Regions from separate parts of the Homo sapiens genome. Here region 1 is linked to region 2. Evidence: promoter capture Hi-C in 16 types of primary human blood cells and fetal thymus (Javierre and others, 2016). All regions are on one chromosome and are shown on one strand. Each heading gives the region's core, a stretch centred on a gene start or on the middle of the fragment in contact. The rest is flanking DNA. Distances are from core to core; before and after follow the strand shown.

Region 1 (3,304 bases), core at 719-3,218, 170 kb after region 2:
GGCAGAGGTTGCAGTGAGCCGAGATCGCGCCACTGCCCTCCAGCCTGGGCGACAGAGCGAGACTCCGTCTCAAAGAAAAAAAAAAAAAAAGGATCATAACTAAGACTCGAATGCGGAGGGATAACAGCCTCTGCTACTTGAAACCTAGTCCTTCTGGGGAGGAAAGCCCAGGTGTGTGGCAGGTGGAAGGGAGGGCGAGCCTAGGTGGTCCTCTTGCTAGGGCAAGAAGCCCCCAAGCACCTGCCCCCAGCTGAGCAGCTCCGCGCCTCCTGGCCCTGGACGAACTTGGGCCCAGACTGGCGCTCCGTGGCACCCCCTCCCCCGGCCTCCCGCTTCGCGCCCTCATCCCGCCCCCCGGCGCGGCCTCACCAGCTCCCCCTGGGCAGCCCAAAGAATGCGAAGAGGTAGGTGGGGGTAGGGAGGAGGGCGAGCCGCTGGGAGAGACAAAGGGCCCGAGTCTGAGCGAGAGACACAAAGACGCGAGGAGGCTGGGGAGATAGGGGAAGTGGGACAAGGACGCGGGGAGTGACCAGGTCCGGAGGCCGGACTGGAGCCCAGCCCCACCCAGCCCGGCCGGGCCAGCGCAGCGCGGGGGCCGGTCTCTGCTGCCCCCTGGCGGGTGGCTGCGGTGAGAAGGCGGCGCGGAGCAGGTGTTGGGAGGGGAGGACCAGGGCGCGCAGGGAGGTAGGGAGGGAAGGAAGCAGAGAACAGAGCAGGGACAGAGAGACAGCGAGAGAGACTCGCACGCAGAGACAAGAGACGCCGAGAGGGAGACACAGAGAAAGAGACAGGGACAGAGAGACACAGATAGAGACAGAGAGAGACACACGGAGAGACAGAGACAGAGAAGCACAGAGATAGAGAGGCACAGAGATAGAGACAGAGAAACACAGAGACAGAGAGGCACACAGAGACAGAGAGGCACAGAGACAGGCCGATAGAGACAGAGATACACAGAAATAGAGACAGAGACAGAGAGGCACACAGATAGAGACAGAGAGACACAGAGACAGAGTCAAAGGATGGAAAGAGACATGGGGACCAAGTGACCCAGAAACAGTGACAGACAGGCCGGGCTTGGTGGCTCACGCCTGTAATCCCAGCATCTTGGGAGGCCGAGCCGGGAGGATCGCTTGAGGCCAGCCTCAGCAACATAGTGAGACCCCGCCGCCCCCCCGCCCCGTCTCTTTTATTGAAATAAAGAAACAGTGACTGACAAAGGAAGACCAGAAACAGAGCGACACCGAAGCATGAGGACGGAAAGACCCAGAGAGGCAGAAATACAGGGACAGAGAGGAAGACCCAAAGAGAGTGAGAGAGACACAAAGACACGTAAGAGAGACAGAGAAATCCAGAAAGAAACGAGTGCAGCGACACCTAGAGTTCGGGGCAGAGATTAGAAACGCACGAGGGTACGAGAAACAGGCTCAGGGCGATGGGCTCGACCTGCGGGGAGGTCGCACAACCGGGACGTGCTGGGGGCAGAACCGTAAAGCCCCACGTGCCTCAGGCAACTGTGATGAGAGGACCCGGGCAGGCAGGAAAGGGCAGGATTCGAACTGTGGGTGGGACAGAGGCCAGGACGGACTGAGCTAAGAGACCGAGAGAACTCCGGCTAGGGCGAGGGGCGGGGCTGGTGGAGGCGGGGCTGGTGGGGGCGGAGTCGGCCGGAAGGGCCGAAAGGGGCGTGGCAAGACCTTGGCGAGGCGGCCGGTAGGCAGGGGGCGGGGCGTGGGAACTACTCGGGAGCAGAGGGGGCGTGGCTAGACCTTAGGGGGCGTGGTTTAACGCCGGGAGCGAAGGAGACAGAATTCTTTGGCAGGGGCGACCTTAGAATCCTGGGGAGGAGCGAGAATGGAATCCCGGGGAGGAACAGGGGTGGAATCCGGGGGGCGGGGTCAGAACGCCAGGAGGGGGCGGGGCCGGAGCCAGGGTCGGCTTGACTCGGGGGAGCAGCGGGTGGATCCTGTGACGTCAGCGGGTTCGAACCGCCGGAGCTGAGCGAGAGGCCGGGGGTGCCGAGCCGGGCGGGGAGAGCTGGGCCGGGAGAGCAGAACAGGGAGGCTAGAGCGCAGCGGGAACCGGCCCGGAGCCGGAGCCGGAGCCCCACAGGCACCTACTAAACCGCCCAGCCGATCGGCCCCCACAGAGTGGCCCGCGGGCCTCCGGCCGGGCCCAGTCCCCTCCCGGGCCCTCCATGGCCCGGGCCGCTGCCCTCCTGCCGTCGAGATCGCCGCCGACGCCGCTGCTGTGGCCGCTGCTGCTGCTGCTGCTCCTGGAAACCGGTGAGACGAGCGGACGGCCCCCTGCCCTCGCGCGGACCCCCTCCAACCTTACCTTCCGAGCTGGGGAAGCCGAGCACCTTCCCCGCCCACCCCCGGCTCCCCGAGCCCCCTCTCGCGTGCCCCCTTCCTGGCTGGCCCCACAGACTCCGACCCCCTACACGTCCGATTCTCTCGAGGAGACTCTGACCCCTCCTTTCTGCATCTCTCTCACCACCACCCCCATCCTTCTTAATCCAATTGCCCATCCTACGCCTGCTTGTCTGTCCCCCTCCCCATTTCTCGGATTCCCGCGCCGAAAGGGTTAAATCCCAGGAAGGCCTGGTGCCCCCTCCCCACCCCGCGCCGAGTAGTTCACCCGGATCTGGGTCTCTGTCTCCTCTACCCCTCTCAGGAATGTGGGGAATGTTCCCCCCACCTACCGCAGTAAGGTCTCGAGGAAGAGGCGAGACCACCTCCCTCCCCTATTTTTCCTTCTTCCCGGCTTGGGCGTCTGAGGCCCGGAGAGAACTGAGGACAAGCGGACCTGATTCGGGTCCCTTGGAGGGCTAAGGATAAGAGTTCTGGCGACTTAGGGGGAAGGGCCTGAGCTCGGAGCTCCAACCCCGAACCTCAGGGAGTTGGGGGTTCTGACTCCGTGGACTCCAGAAAAATTAGGGGCCGGGGGCTCCGTCTTCAGGGTCCCTGGTAGAATGGAGGCTAGGCGCTAAGTCTAACTGGGATCTAGGTAAAACTGGGGGCGAGAGAGGATCAAACTTGTAGCTTCTGGATTTAATTGTGGGCAGGGGGCTTCGTTTTCAGGGTTCCCGGCAGAACCGGGGGACAGGAGACTCGATCTCGTGGGCTTCAGACTTAATTGTAGGCAGAGGAACGTCTTCTGAGATCCAAACAGAAGTGCGAGCAGCGGGCCCCGTCTCTTGGGCTCCAGATATGATCAAGGGTCGAAGGCTCTGTCTTGAGGCTGGAGTCTCAGTCGCCTGAGTCCCAGATAGAACGGGAGGCCCCGAGTCCCAGAGGCTGGG
Region 2 (3,606 bases), core at 474-2,973:
AGGAAGCCCTCCCTAGCCGTCAGGTTGAATGAGGTGTGTCTCCTTGGGCTCTCCCAGACTCCTGGGCTCCTCCATCCCAGCCCTGATCACTCTGGATCATAATTGTGTGAGAGGGGTCTGCCCCCCCAAACCCTACAGGATTGTGTGCCCTACTGTGGACAGAGGGCAGAGCAGAGGTGGTCTCAATCATCACTGTGTCACCAACATCACCCAGCACACACAACTGGGCACTGGGAATGTGTGCTGGAATGAATGGAGGATGCTTTTTAAAAACTAGGCTAAGCCAGGTATGGTGAGTCACATCTGTAATCCCAGTACTTTGGGAGGCTAAGGTGGGAGGATCACTTGAGCCCAGGAGTTCAACACCAGCCTGGGGCAACATAGTGAGATCCCATCTCTACAAAACATATAAAAATTGACCAGGGATGGTAGCACACAACTGTGGTCCCAGCTACTCAGGAGGCTGAGACGGGAGGATTGCTTGAGCCCAGGAGTTGGAGGCTGCAGTGAGCAATGATCATGCAACTATACTCCAGCCTGGGCAACAGAGCGAGACCCTGTCTTAAAAAAAAAAAAAAAGAATAACACACTTGGAATAAACATGATCCAAAAAAGTACAAAACATACACTCTGGGGCTGGGTGCAGTGGCTCATGCCTATACTCCTAGTACTTTGGGAGGCCGAGGCAGGAGGATCATCTGAGGTCAGGAGTTTGAGACCAGCCTGGCCAACATGGCAAAACCCCATCTCTACTAAAAATACAAAAATTAGCCAGGCATGGTGACGCATGCCTGTAATCCCAGCTACTCAGAAGGCTGAGGCAGAAGAATCACTTGAACCTGGGAGGCGGAGGTTGCAGTAAACTGAGATTGTGCCACTGTACTCCAGCCTGGGTGACACAGCATCTAAAAAAGAAACCAATCCAAAAACTACAAAATATTCTTGCAATTATAGGTGACATATTTAAATGGTAAGACAACCAATGTTCATGAATGGAAAGACAGAGCAAGACCCTGTCTCAAGAAAAAAAAAAAAAAAAAAAAAAAAAAAAAACAGGCTGAGCGCGGTGGCTCACACCTGTAATCCCAGCACTTTGGGAGGCCAAGGTGGGCAGATCACCTGAGGTCAGGAGTTCAAGACCAGCCTGACCAACATGGAGAAACCCTGTCTCTACTAAAACTACAAAAGTAGCCGGGCGTGGTGGCGCATGCCTGCATTTCCAGCTACTCCCTGAGGTGGGAGGATCGCTTGAACCCAGGTGGCAGAGGTTGCGGTGAACTGAGATTGCGCCATTGCACTCCAGCCTGGGCAACAAGAGCGAAACTCCATCTCAAAAGAAAAAAAAAGAAAAACACGAGGCTAAGAGCTTTTTTTTTTTTTTGAGACGAAGTCTCGCTCTGTCACCCAGGCTGGAATGCAGTGGCGCGATCTCGGCTCCCTGCAACCCCTGCCTCCCAAGTTCAAGTGATTCTCCTGCCTCAGCCTCTCCAGTTGCTGGGATTACAGGTGCCCACCACCACGCCTGACTAACTTTTGTATTTTTAGTAGAGACAGGGTTTCACCATGTTGGCCAGGCTGGTCTCAAATTCCTCACCTCGTGATCTACCCACCTTGGCCTCCCAAAATGCTGGGATTACAGGCGTGAGCCACCGCACCCAGCCTGCCTCAGAGCCTTCAAGTGAGTCAGCCACAGGTGAAATCCCACCTCTGTCTATTGGCAGACTTGCCTCTTTTCCTGGGCCTCTGTTTCCACATCTGTGCAATGGGAACAGTTATTTATGGTGGCTGCTGAATGAGGCAGTGTGTGTTTGAACAAACCCAGGGGAATTGTTCAAACAGAGGCTGTTATGACTATTGCTACAGTGACTGCTGTTGTAGTCACGCTGAGTGAGAAAAAGAGGTTGAAGAGGGTCAGGGGAGGAGTCCTGGGAAGTTCCCCAGTCACCCTGAAAAACTGGTTCAACCTCTGTCTGTGCTCCCATCCCAGGGAGTATAGGTGGAGCCTCCAGAGCCCATGGACAGGGCATGCTGGGGCTGGGCCAGCCCCAGCGGTGTCTCTAAGGCACCCCTGGGATCCCCACTGAGCTGGCCTACTTCAGACAGCCAGGGCCCACCCCTCTGGCCCCCTTAGTGTCCAGCTCGTGGCCCCTTGGCATTTCCACAAGACGCCAAGATGGAGATTCCCATGGGGACCCAGGGCTGCTTCTCAAAGAGCCTCCTGCTCTCAGGTAAGGAGGAAATAGACCCTAAAGGCCAAGGGGAGAAATGGGGACTCAGCCCAGAGATTGAAGTTTCCTCTTAGAAGTAGGGAAAGATTACCTGAGAGGATGAAATTAGAATAAGATGGGGGAGGGGCAACAGAATCACAGCCTCATTGCCATTTTATCTATGGAATTTTCTATAATGTTAGGACCATGAAGGCAGGAATTTATGTATGTTTGGTTCCCTGCTATATCTCCAGTGTCTAGAAATTGAAGGAAGTTTAGATGTATTACATATAGTTGGTATTATAGCTTATATATTACATATGCCTATAAGTATTGGTTGAATAAATGAATGAATGAATGAATTCAGAGAGTCCATGTGTTTAGAAGCAGGCCACACAGCATCTCAAGGTAGAAAAACCTCTGGATCAACAGGATGGCAAATCTGTGGTAACCATGCCTGTGTTCCCACTCCTGCACCCAGGGCAGACATCACTAATCAATCCCAGCATTGTTTCCAATGAGCAGCACTCAGAGTCCTTGCTCCCCGCTGAAGATCTGTATCTAGAGAGGAGCATGCCATGGTCCCTGGCAACACCCCTGATCTCAGCCCTTCCCTGTAACTTCCCACAGCCTCAATCCTGGTCCTCTGGATGCTCCAAGGCTCCCAGGCAGCTCTCTACATCCAGAAGATTCCAGAGCAGCCTCAAAAGAACCAGGACCTTCTCCTGTCAGTCCAGGGTGTCCCAGACACCTTCCAGGACTTCAACTGGTACCTGGGGGAGGAGACGTACGGAGGCACGAGGCTATTTACCTACATCCCTGGGATACAACGGCCTCAGAGGGATGGCAGTGCCATGGGACAGCGAGACATCGTGGGCTTCCCCAATGGTTCCATGCTGCTGCGCCGCGCCCAGCCTACAGACAGTGGCACCTACCAAGTAGCCATTACCATCAACTCTGAATGGACTATGAAGGCCAAGACTGAGGTCCAGGTAGCTGGTAAGTGTTAGGGTCTGGGGATGAGGTGAGGAAGCTAATGAGCCCTGAGCAGCTACCATGCACCAGGTGCTGTGCAAACACCATTTCATTTGGTCCTCTCATTTATTCACTTGACACATATTGAGCATCTACTGTGTACCAATCCCCAGAGATAGTCTTTAACCCTCACATGCATTAACTAATAAAATATCTATGAAATGCCCGCCTTGTGCCTGACACTGGAGAATGCACCATCTCATTTACCTTTCACATGCACTAACATTAACCAAATTTTTATCGAGCACTTACTGTATGCCTGGTTGTGAGGAATGCATCCCTCAATCTTTATGTTTATAAAGCGAGTATTTACTGATGAATCCACTCGGGGCAAAGTGTGAGGGAAAGGGTGGTGGGCAATAAT

Evidence for each region. Contacts are between HindIII fragments. The CHiCAGO score rates a contact against its expected background, and 5 or more counts as called.
Region 1: the fragment with the promoter of NECTIN2 here is called in contact with the fragment with the promoter of CEACAM19 in region 2 in 1 of 17 cell types (neutrophils); the score reaches 7.9 in neutrophils.

Annotation. Positions count from the first base shown.
Region 1 is chr19:44,844,329-44,847,632 of GRCh38, forward strand. NECTIN2 (nectin cell adhesion molecule 2) reads left to right here and starts at 1,969. Exons shown (of 9, transcript NM_001042724.2): 1 at 1,969-2,285. The coding sequence starts at 2,198. RefSeq lists silencers at 333-732, 1,600-1,649, 1,730-1,809, 1,940-2,039. The HindIII fragment of the contact is 16,272 bases long and covers 1-3,304 here.
Region 2 is chr19:44,669,759-44,673,364 of GRCh38, forward strand. It overlaps CEACAM19 (CEA cell adhesion molecule 19), which reads left to right and starts at 1,724. Exons shown (of 8, transcript NM_001127893.3): 1 at 1,724-2,228; 2 at 2,838-3,206. The coding sequence starts at 2,174. The HindIII fragment of the contact is 14,850 bases long and covers 1-3,606 here.